Regions from separate parts of the Homo sapiens genome. Here all the other regions are linked to region 2. The links are contacts of gene promoters, found by promoter capture Hi-C in human tissues and cell types (Jung and others, 2019). All regions are on one chromosome and are shown on one strand. Each heading gives the region's core, a stretch centred on a gene start or on the middle of the fragment in contact. The rest is flanking DNA. Distances are from core to core; before and after follow the strand shown. Region 1 overlaps OSBP2 (oxysterol binding protein 2). Region 2 holds the start of PLA2G3 (phospholipase A2 group III). Region 3 overlaps EIF4ENIF1 (eukaryotic translation initiation factor 4E nuclear import factor 1).

What was found. Contacts are between HindIII fragments. The study calls those that stand out against the background at their distance.
Region 1: a fragment that was not itself captured here is called in contact with the fragment with the promoter of PLA2G3 in region 2 in 2 of the 25 tissues and cell types used here (IMR-90 fibroblasts and lymphoblastoid cells).
Region 3: a contact is called between a fragment that was not itself captured here and the fragment with the promoter of PLA2G3 in region 2, in 1 of the 25 tissues and cell types used here (lymphoblastoid cells).

What each region holds. Positions count from the first base shown.
Region 1 is chr22:30,820,508-30,824,276 of GRCh38, reverse strand. All of the region lies in intron 2 of OSBP2 (oxysterol binding protein 2), which reads right to left. Among named protein-coding and RNA genes, the nearest start is that of MIR3200, 91 kb to the right of the region's middle. RefSeq lists enhancers at 784-1,348, 1,754-2,661. The HindIII fragment of the contact is 7,647 bases long and covers 1-3,769 here.
Region 2 is chr22:31,138,202-31,142,207 of GRCh38, reverse strand. It overlaps PLA2G3 (phospholipase A2 group III), which reads left to right and starts at 1,700. Exons shown (of 7, transcript NM_015715.5): 1 at 1,700-2,367; 2 at 3,409-3,541; 3 at 3,798-3,932. The coding sequence starts at 1,854. RefSeq lists enhancers at 1,078-1,637, 1,638-2,196, 3,914-4,006. The HindIII fragment of the contact is 19,816 bases long and covers 1-4,006 here.
Region 3 is chr22:31,463,145-31,466,819 of GRCh38, reverse strand. EIF4ENIF1 (eukaryotic translation initiation factor 4E nuclear import factor 1) reads left to right here. Exons shown (of 19, transcript NM_019843.4): 5 at 2,853-3,139. Among named protein-coding and RNA genes, the nearest start is that of EIF4ENIF1, 25 kb to the left of the region's middle. The HindIII fragment of the contact is 3,841 bases long and covers 1-3,455 here.

The DNA of each region.
Region 1 (3,769 bases), core at 752-3,251, 320 kb after region 2:
ACACAACTTCCTGAGCCGCCTCCTCCCCAGGCTTGCTGTGCAGGGCAGGACACCAACAGAAGGATAAGATGGAAGGCTGGCTGGCCTAGAGGGGTCTGGCCGTCAAAAAGGTCACCCCGTCACTGCTCTCAAGATACAGCTGCTCTGGTCACACCTGAGGTTCCCTACAAAGGTGACATTCCTCCACAACCAAGCCAAGTGCTAGCAGACATCGGGTCCAATGCTCCTTGTTAACACTTCCAGACAAGGGCAACCAAGAAAATCATTAGATGAGCCAAGAGAAAAAAAACAATGTCTTTTCTTTTTAAAACTAACTCCAAAATTCTCCCTCGGAATAAATCCATCCAAACCGATGACAGAAACATCATTTAAATTTCGCGTAAAGAACATAACTACTTTAGAAATGACGCTATATCCAAAATAAAAACTGGAAACTAAGACCAATCCTCTAAAACCAGAACACACACTTTGGACGAAATTTACTTGCAAGTTTCCTTAAAGGACTCTTAAGATGGAGGTGTAGTATCAACTCCTAATGAAATACATTTCATTTACAACTGCACACACCCTAAGACCTCATATGGTGTTTCAAGAGAACTCACGTGGTTGGATGGGATTCCTGGGCTGAGGCTTGCAGCCTGCAACTTCGAAGTCCTCTGGAATGGACCAAGGTCTTATGAAGCCATTAGCATAACCAGTAAGCAGGCAAAGTTAATTACAAGGTTTATTACAGATCAGAGAGTGCTGATTTCTAAAGGAGCTGTTTCTAATAAATTCGTGTTAGGTGAAATTAACCGCCTCTGTGTCTTTTAAGTCCACAAGGTTAAAGAATCCTAATTTTTCCGAGTTTCAGATGTTAACAGAAACACTCATCAAGGTAAATACAGCAAATTTCACTCACGCAAAATTTCCAATAAAGAAGGTTTCAAGCATCAGGAATTGCAGGCAAGAGCTTACAGAGTTTGCAAGTCTTCCATTTAAGACAGCTAAGGTTTTCCCCCACGCTAGGAAGGGCCCTTGGGCTTGTGAGCCTGCACAGGCCAGGGCAGTCATTCAGGATCACCACGGGACGGGGAGGGAGGGTTGCTCAAACCCAGGCGGCCACTCGGAGAATCACACACTGAGCAAAGCCGACACCACTGGTGGCCCCAGGACGAGGCCCTTGTGGGCAAATCAGCGACTCTACAGGGGCTCCAGGGGCATGCGGACCCCAGGCCGACTCTGGGGAAGAAGAGGTAGATGGGTGGATAAAACACCGACCACCGCTTCCCCCTTCTTTTCATAAAGATATAGATTATATTTCATTTTCTTTTTGCATAGGTTAATTAGACGGACAAGTCTCTAGCCGCAGCCCCCTCTCCAAAATGCCCCGCGCGTGAAGCAAGCCGGGAGCGCACGCCGGCGGGGTGCGGGGACAGGGGTTCCCCGAGGCTCCCCGCGCTCCCCACGCCGCGAGGGAGTGACATCAGAGGCTCCCGTGGATCGATCACGCAGCAAAGCCAGGCACCGGGCGTGCATGCGCGGGGAGCCTGGCCTCCCTCCGGGTGGAAGCCCGGCAAGCACTAACCCTTCTTAAATTTATTCAGGCAGCCGGAGCTGCAGAAGGAGCGCACGGAGGCCGTGTCCCAGCAGCCGCGTCCCTTCATTTCCCGCGGCGGGGCAGCCTCCAATCGGCGGGGCGCTACATGGCGCCGGGTCCCGGGGGCTTGCACGGACGCGTGCACAGCTCGGTGGGCCGCCCGGCGGAGGCGGCGGACACTCGTGGGTCCCGGCGCCGCGTTACCACAATGCACCACTGCCGCCCGCCACCCGGTACATGAGCGCGTTAACCCCGTCCGCGCCGCGGGAGCCGAGCCCAGCCTGAGCGGCGGTGCTGCCTACCACTTCCTCCCGCCCCAGGAGCGCGGCCTCGTCCCGCGCGTCGCCTGCTGGTCCGTGCGACCCCGCGGACGCCCATGCAGGCTCCCCACTTCAATGTCACATTTTAATGCGAAAATCCGAGCGAAAGTGCTGTCCCCTGCAGCAACAAGCTCGGCGTTGCTTTATCTCAAAGGGCAAAGATGCCCTTGAGAGCTAAGGGGCACGCGGGAAATGGGGATGGCCAGGGGCCTGACGGTGATTCCAGGAAATCGGGGTCACCTCTGAGACCCTCTCATCTTCTGACCCCGCTGCCGTGGCTGGTGCACCTGTGTCTGGCCACCTGCAGACACCTGGCCACCATGCAGGAAGAAGGCAACAGGCAGGGCCCCGGGGAGCTGGGCTCCCTTAGTTCTGCTGCCACAGGCCTGCAGGCATCTGGTCACAAGGTATTTGCCCAGGCCTTTGAACACAACTCCACTGTCCAGCTGCCCACAGGCATAACCAGTAAGTTAGCAAAGTTAATTACAAGGTTTATTACAGATCAGAGAACGCTGATTTCTAAAGGAGCTGTTTCTAATAAATTCGTGTTAAGTGAAATTAACTGCCTCTGTGTCTTTTAGGTCTACAAGGTTAAAGAATCCTAGTTTTCCCCAGAGTTTCAGATGTTAACAGAAACACTCAACAAGGTAAATACAGCAAGTTTCACTTACAAAAATTTCCAGTAAAGAAGCGCCCACCGCCTCCGCCAGGCAGCCCACCGAAATCTCCGTGGGATGTGTGGTGGGCGTCAGAAACCCAACTGTCCAAATCTGAGCTTCCCTATCCCCGCACCCCCATCCCCCATCCACCGCCATTTGTACCACACCCTTCCTCAACCCTCCCCACCTCAGCTAGTGACATCATTCGGGTCAGAAACTCTGGAGTCGTCTGTGACTTCTCCGTCTCTTAGATCCACATCCAGTTGGTCAGCACATCATGATGGCTGTACCCGTAGAATACAGCCAGGATCCCTTGACTCTCACCACCTGCATGTTGTTTCTGGGGCCTGCTACGCCCTCGTCTTGCCTGTGGACTCTTACACAATCTCCCTGCAAGTCTCTCTGCTCCCACTCTGGTCCCCACAGTCTCTGCACAATATAACAGCTGAGAGATCCTGTACACTGTATGTCAGACGCTGACACTCTCCCACTCAGAGGTCTTCAACTCCACACTTGGGCCTGCCCCACTCCTCTGCTGAGGCTCCCACTTCGCTCTGCCTTATGTATGTCTCATCTTTCCCACTGGACTACAGACTCTGGGCCCTGGGACTGAGTTTTAGCCACTGCTTCATCTCCAACAGAGCCCTACCTAACTGTGCCACCTTGCAGGAGCTCAAGCAAAGGAATTGATCAAATGTAATTTATTGAAAAGGAATCCATTTTCACCAATTTAAAGCTTTTTCAAATACACATCAAAGCTCCTCTTTTAACATCTAATAGACCCAGGGAAGGTGGTGCTGGGTCAGTAATTCCCTTCCAGGCCTTTGAGGCAACTGAGTACTTCTTTCACCTGGAGAATTAATCCTTAACAATTGAGTTAGATTCACTGGCCGGGCAGGGGGATAGAAAGCATTTAGCCATTCTGGGCCTTGGTTTTCTGGCTGCAAAATGAAGAGCACCACAGTGATGGAAATGGTCCTAGCGATAGAGTGTTGAGAACACCAGGCTGCATGCTTGACCTGCATTTCCTCATTTCATTCTCACAGAAAAGCCTTGTTTGATAAATTTCACCAACACCCTCTTTTACAGATGAGGAGACTAAGGCTCTGAGGTCAAGTGACTTGCCCAGGGTCACCAGGCTTGGAACTGGCCTGGTCTGGCTGACCTCAGAGGCCACACTCAGAGAACCATGCTCTGCAAGGTCCCTTAAA
Region 2 (4,006 bases), core at 451-2,950:
CTTTAGTGATGGTGTTTTGGGTGCCAGGAACTGTGCTGGGAATCTTACCCAACATCCTGTGGAGTGACTACTGTGATTATGCCCATGATACAGATGAGGAAACTAAGACTCAGAGAAGTTAAGATTTCCAAGCCTAGGGTCTGTGTGGAAACCTAAGCTGGACCTGTCTGACCTCGAAAGCTTGGCTCCTCGTATCCTACCTCCCAGCCTCCCCAGGTGATGGGCAGGGAAGGGCTCAGCAATGTGGAAAAGGGGGCAGAGGTGGGTGGCAGTTCCTATGATGGGAGGAAGTCTCAGCATGATGATTTTTCAAACATCACAACTCTTCACAGAAGGACTCACCTTTGTTCAGCTACATCCTTGCCCTTGGGGACCCCAGGTCTACCTCCTCTGCCACCACTCGCTGTATTCCACACCCCCTTTCTCAACCTCTGGCAAGAAGGCGCTTGGTCCCTGGACTAGCCCTACCCTCTTTCCCTTCTCTTCATTGTTCCCAGCTATGATGCTTTGAGCCACAGGCCCAGGCTGGTTCTGAAGCTACAGAGATGGACCTGCCCACCCTGCAGCCCCCTTCCCCCTCTGCCACACAGTGAGCTCTCCTTCCCCAGCTCTGCCCCTGGCTTTACCTCACTGGGGCTCATCCCCTGGAAGAGACTCAGATGGAGCCTGGGGCAGGGGGAGGCTGGAGAAGCAGCAGGCTAATGGGCAGATGGAAGACAGACAAGTCACTGTCCTGGCCAGCCCTGACTCCCATCCAGATCCCCAAGCGCTGCATTCCCATCCTCTAAGCCCTCCCCAGCTGGAGCCTGTCACCTGAGGTTTTCCCACCCTCACTGAGCCTCAGTTTCTTCATCTGCACTATGGGTGTAAGCACCCTGGCCTCACTAGATGGTTGGAAGCTGGGCTTTGGGATCCAGGAACAATACCTGGGTATAGCCCCTTCCTGATGGAGAGATTCCTGTCTCATGAGGCACACATGATGCCTGCTGTGTCCCCCCAGGTGGCCAGGGATGGAGGTGGCCACAGACATACACCCTGGGCCACTCTCTGCCACTCTAGGGACCATAGTTCTTTCAAATCCAGAGCATCAGCCCTGCCCTGTGTGGCTCTCAAGGCCTGTTCCCGCTGCGTCTCCCCCAGTTATCAGACCAGGAGGGTTGCTGCAAGGCCAGGCCCATGCTTGGAGTCCTAGGAAGCGGGGAGCCCTGGGGCTCTGTCCCCTGAGTATGCCGAGAGCCTTTCTAAGAACCAGGACTTGGCAGGGGAGCACCCCAGGTGGCACTCCCTTTCCCAGAAGCCTTGGGAACTCCCAGGGTGGTAGCTTCAGAGCCCCAGCCCTTCCTTCACCCAGCCCTGGCAGAGGCCCATGGCCCCCTGCCAGCCTGATGGAGGTGGATGTGGCAGCCACCGCTGTGGTAAGGGTGAGAAGGGTGGGTTCTAAGGGACTCCTCCAAGCTCCTGAACCCTTTTCCTTCCCTTCAAGGAGATGTGAAAGCCCCAGCCTGGTCCCCATCCCACAGCTTAGGGCTTTGGCTCCCATAGTCCCAATCTAGGCAGGGCTGGCAGCAGGTGACTGGATGGTGCTGAGAAGGCAGGCAGAATGGGGGCGTGGGCCCTGGCAAGTGCACTCCTCAGCCAATCAGCGTCCTGCCCGGCTGGTGGATTCGGTTACAAGCCCAAGATCACCCCATACTCCAGCCTCTTTCCTCCTCCTCCCGCAGCTCCATTCATTGGTCCCGCCGCACCGGGCCTGCTGGGCTCCGCTTCCGTTCCACTGCTCAGCTGCCGCCTGGTGGGGCCACCAAGGGCAGGCATCCCAGGGGCTTTGTCTGACTGGACTGGGCCAGTGCAGAATGGGGGTTCAGGCAGGGCTGTTTGGGATGCTGGGCTTCCTGGGGGTGGCCCTGGGGGGCTCCCCTGCCCTCCGCTGGTACAGGACCTCCTGCCACTTGACCAAGGCCGTCCCTGGCAACCCACTGGGGTACCTGAGCTTCCTGGCCAAGGATGCTCAGGGACTGGCCCTGATCCATGCCCGCTGGGATGCGCATAGGAGGCTGCAGTCATGTAGCTGGGAGGATGAGCCGGAGCTCACCGCAGCCTACGGTGCTCTCTGTGCTCATGAGACTGCCTGGGGCTCCTTCATCCACACCCCCGGACCCGAGCTGCAGAGAGCACTGGCCACTCTTCAGAGTCAGTGGGAGGCATGCCGAGCGCTTGAGGAGAGTCCAGCAGGGGCCAGGAAGAAGCGAGCAGCAGGGCAGAGTGGAGTCCCTGGTGGAGGGCACCAGCGAGAGAAGAGAGGATGGACCATGCCTGGCACACTGTGGTGTGGAGTTGGAGATTCTGCTGGGAACTCCTCGGAGCTGGGTGAGCCATGAGGGGTGTGTGGGCTGGGGGGTCCGATCGGGGAAGCAAGGTTTCTTCAGCCCCAGCCCTTACTCTCCTAGGCTGTGTGTCCCTGGGGGAGTGACTTGACCATGGTGAACCTCAATTTCCTTATCTGTAAAGTGGGGGCAATCACGAATCTCATCATGGGGTGCTTAAATGAGGTCACGGTTGGGGAAAGTCTTATTCAAACCTGGGAGTCCTCATTAAATGCCATCCGAGGGACTGGGCAGGCTGGGGGAGGATCCAGGGTCAACTGAGCCAAAAAGCCATTACCCAGGAGGAGGCTTTGTGGGCACGGGGTGCCCAGTGGAATGGATGCTGAGACGAAAGGCCTGGGTTCAAATCCCAACTCAGCACATACAAGCTGAGCAAGTCACTTCCCCTCTCTGGACTTATTTCCTCACCTGTAAAATGAAGGTGATACCTCCCTTTCAGGGCTGGCTGTGAACCTGGATGTGGGAAGTGCCAGGCATGTGGGAAATGCTTAGTAAAGAGTGCTATTTTTTAGATGGTAATAAACATAGATGAATTTCTTGCACTATCAGTACAGATGTCTGTGCGTTTGTGTGCAGGGTTGGGGGAGGGCTTGGCACCTGAGTCAGAGTAGGTTGGCATCCTGGCGACACCTCCTTGTGCCAGTGAGAAAGGTTGCACCCTGCCTGTTTGCCATTCCATCATACACACATTCATAATTTTGGAGTTTTATTTGGGGCGTGGGCTTGGGAACTCTGGAGGCAGACTCCAATTCCCCTGAGGAAGACCTTTCCATGTATTTATGGGTGGGCTACCTGGCATTTAGAGTTGCCCAACAGAGGCTGCAGCTTGGCTTCTCTTTTCCAGCTTTGAAACTCTGAGAGTCCCACAGAAGGGAGAGTGACTGGTCTGAGGACCCTCATGGCGTTTGTGTCAGGGCTGGGGTGAGAACCAGGTCTCTGCCCTCTTCCTACCAGGGGGGCATAGCTGGTGCATGATGCCTAGGACCCTGCTGAGTTGGTGCCCTCTCCCCTCCCCTCCCTGCAGGGGTCTTCCAGGGACCTGATCTCTGTTGCCGGGAACATGACCGCTGCCCACAGAACATCTCACCCTTGCAGTACAACTATGGCATCCGAAACTACCGATTCCACACCATCTCCCACTGTGACTGTGACACCAGGTTGGTGGCAGGCAGCGAGGGCCCAGAGCTCAGGGACAGGGCAGAGTTACCCAGTTCCTGGGTAACTAGACATTGGGATTGCAGAGGATCTTAAAGCTCAGCCAGCTTGGACCCCACAGTGCAGGTAGGAAAGCTGAGGCCAGAAAGAAGGGATGCTTGGACCCCAAACCACCCAGCTGGTAGTGGCACAGTGGGCTGTGGGAGGAGCCAGACAGCCCTCCATGCCCCAGGGTCCTGGGTATCTGTTCTGGGGCAGGTTTCAGCAATGCCTACAGAATCAGCACGACTCCATCTCGGACATCGTGGGCGTGGCCTTCTTCAACGTGCTGGAGATCCCCTGCTTTGTGCTGGAGGAGCAGGAGGCGTGTGTGGCGTGGTACTGGTGGGGCGGGTACGTGGCCACCCCCTCATGTCCCTTTCCAGACAGAGAGGGAGCCCAGGCTCCAAGCCTGGTGAGGGAGAGCT
Region 3 (3,675 bases), core at 286-2,785, 320 kb before region 2:
CACCAATAAATTTATTGAGATAGAATTTACATATAGCCTGCACAAAAAGTATACCATTTGATGTCTTGACATGTGTATATACCTGTGAAACCGTTACCAAAATCAACATAAGCATTTTTATCACCCCCAAAAGTTCCCTAGTATTCCTATGTGTCCCTCCCTTTAGCTGCCCCCCCCACAACACTTCCCCCTTCCCAAGCAAGCGCTGATTTGCTTTGTTTTTTTTTGTTGTTTTTTTGAGACAGAGTCTCCCTCTGTTGCCTAGGCTGGAGTACAGTGGCGTGGTCTCTGCTTACTGCAACCTCTGCCTCCCAGGTTAAAGCGATTGTCTTGCCTCAGCTTCCTGAGTAGCTGGGATTACACATACACGTTCCACCGTGCCCAGCTAATTTTTTTTTCCCCCCACCGAGACAGAGTCTTGCTCTGTCACCCAGGCTGGAGTGCAGTGGCGCGATCTCGGCTCACTGCAACCTCTGCCTCCCGGGTTCAAGCGATTGTCGCGCCTCAGCCTCCCAAGTAGCTGGGATTATAGGCGTGCGCCACCATGCCTGGCTAATTTTTGTATTTTTAGTAGAGACAGGGTTTCACCATGTTGGCCAGGCTGGTCTTAAACTCCTGACCTCAAGTGATCCACCCACCTCAGCCTCCCAAAGTGCTGGGATCACAGGCATGAGTCACCGTGCCTGGCCCCAATTTTTGTATTTTTAGTAGAGACAAGGTTTCCCTATGTTGGCCAGGCTGGTGTTGAACTCCCAACCTCAGGTGATCCACCTGTCTTGGCCTCCCAAAGTGTTGGGATTACAGGCATGAGCCATAGTGTCCGGACTGATCTGCTTTCTGTATCTGCTTTCTGTTTCTATAGATTAGTTTACATTTCCTAGGATTTTATATAAATGGAGTTACTATAGTATATACTCCTTGTATAGCTTTTTTCATTAAGAATAGTTACGATTTATCCACGTTGTTGAGTGTCTAGTTTATTTTCATTGCTTAATAGTATTCCATTGTATGGATTTAGCAGTTGATCCGTTTATCTGTTGATGTACATTTGGGTTGTTTCCAGTTTTTGACTGTTAAATAACCAAAGCTGCAATGAACATTCATGTACAAGTCTCTGGACATAAGCTTTCTTTTCTCTTGGGTAAAAACCTAGGATTAAAATGGCTGGGTTGTATAGCAGATGTATGTTTAACCTTCTGGGAAATTGCCAAACTGTTTTCCAAAGTAGTTGTACCATTTTACGTTTCCACCAGTGGTGTATGAGAGTTGCACTTGCTCCAACATCCTCATCTGCACTTGGAATGGTCATTTAAATTTTAGCCATTGTAATAGGCGTGTAGTAGTATCACATGGTTTAATTTGCATTTCCCTAATGACTAATTATGTTGAGTATCTTTTCATATGCTTATTTGCCTTCCACATAACCTCTTTGGTGAAGTGTCTGTTCAAACCATTTGTCTATTTTTCAATTGTGTTGGTTTTTTTTTTTTTTTTTTGAGACAGAGTCTGGCTCTTGGTGCCCAGGCTACAGTGCAGTGGTGCAGTCTCAGCTCACTGCAACCTCCACTTCCCAGGTTTAAGCGATTCTCCTGCCTCAGCCTCCCAAGTAGCTGGGATTACAGGTGCCTACCACCACGCCTGGCTAATTTTGTATTTTTAGTAGAGACGAGGTTTCACCATGTTGGTCAGGCTAGTCTCGAACTCCTAACCTCAGGTGATCCACCTACCTCAGCCTCCCAAAGTGCTGGGATTACAGGCGTGAGCCACTGGGTTGGTTTATTAAGAGATTTTATGTGTTCTGAATTTAAGTCCTTTATCAGAAAAATGCTTTGAAATATTTTGTCTCAGTCTGTGGCTTGTCTTTGCATTCTCTAAACAGTGTCTTTCAAAGAGTAGAAGTTTTAAATTTTGATCAAGCCCAGTCTATCAGTGTTTTTTAAATGGATCATGCTTTTGGTGTCATGCCTAAGAAAACTTTGCCTAACCCAGTGCCACAAGGATTTCCTCCTATATTTTGTTCTAGAAATTTTTAGTTTTAGGTTTTACATTTAGATCTGTGATCCATTTTGAATTAATTTTTGTATATATCTGTTTATATATATATATATATATATATATATTTTTTTTTTTTTTTTTTTTTTTTTGAGACTGAATCTTAGTCTTTTGCCCAGGCTACAGTGTAGCGGGGTGACTTCTGCTACTGCAACCTCTGCCTCCAGGTTCAAGCGATTCTCCTGCCTCAGCCTCCCAAGTAACTGGGATTACAGGCACCTGCCACAATGCCTGGCTAATTTTTGTAGTTTTAGTAGAGACGGGGTTTCACCATCTTGGCCAGGCTGGTCTTGAACTCCTAACCTCGTGATCCACCTGCCTTGACGTCCCAAAGTACTGGATTATAGGCGTGAGCCACCATGCCCGGCCCCAAATATAGATTTAAGTTCATTTCTTTGTCTGTGGATATCTAACCGTTCAACACCATTTTGTTGAAGAGACACTTTAACTTTTTAAGCAGTTATTTTTTCAAATACGCCTGCTGTAGTTTATTAGTTGACAAAACATTTGCTAATAATTCTTAGATAAGGATTTGGTCAAAATAAAGGCACTGCAAAGACTAATCATGGAAAATTATTTATCGTGACGTACTTCTATTGCTGCAAAGAGGAAGGCCAATGTCTCAGCCTTATTTAAATACATAATGTACATGTTACCCTGAATCTGCTGATAAGCCCAATTTTAGTGGTGACTCTCTTCCAACCATCCCCTTCCTCCCATCAGTCATGGACATACTATCTAAAAAAGAAGAAAACACCCTTGTTGGTTTGTTTAACTTTGTCTTTCCCACGTCCTTCCAGATCCACGAGAGCGTGTGAAAGAAGATGACTTAGATGTTGTTCTCAGCCCTCAGAGACGGAGCTTTGGAGGGGGCTGCCACGTGACAGCCGCTGTTAGCTCCCGGCGCTCAGGAAGTCCATTAGAGAAAGATAGTGATGGGCTTCGTCTGCTTGGTGGACGTAGGATTGGCAGTGGGAGGATAATCTCTGCCCGGACCTTTGAGAAGGATCACCGTCTTAGCGATAAGGACCTGCGGGACTTGAGAGACAGAGACCGAGAGAGGGACTTCAAGGACAAGCGTTTCAGGGTTTGTCTTTTTTTTTTTTTTTTTTTTTTAAATTGAGACGGAGTTTCGCTCTTGTTGCCCAGGCTGGAGTGCAATGGCACGATCTTGACTCACTGCTGCCTCAGCCCAGTATCTGGGATTATAGGCACGCACCACCATACCCGGCTAACTTTTTATATTTTTAGTAGAGACGGGGTTTCTCCATGTTAGTCAGGCTGGTCTCTCAAGCTCCCAACCTTAGGTGATCGGCCTGCCTCGGCCTCCCAAAGTGCTGGGATTACAGGCGTGAGCCACCACACCCGACCTGGGTTTGTCTTCTAGATTCTTTGGTAGTTCATGTGCTTGGGGACTTGATATTCACTTTTTTTATACCAGGTTACTTTGAGAACAGGCATGAACACAGCCTGCTCTTAAACCAGTCAGGGAGGAAGGGGTGGGGGTGGTGATGGGCCTCAGGTATACAGCATCATATCTTCCTTTCACTATTGAACATTACAACGAAGACCTTGACTGAAGTAGAAATGGCTTGACTAGAAATTTTTTAATCTTGCTTTATG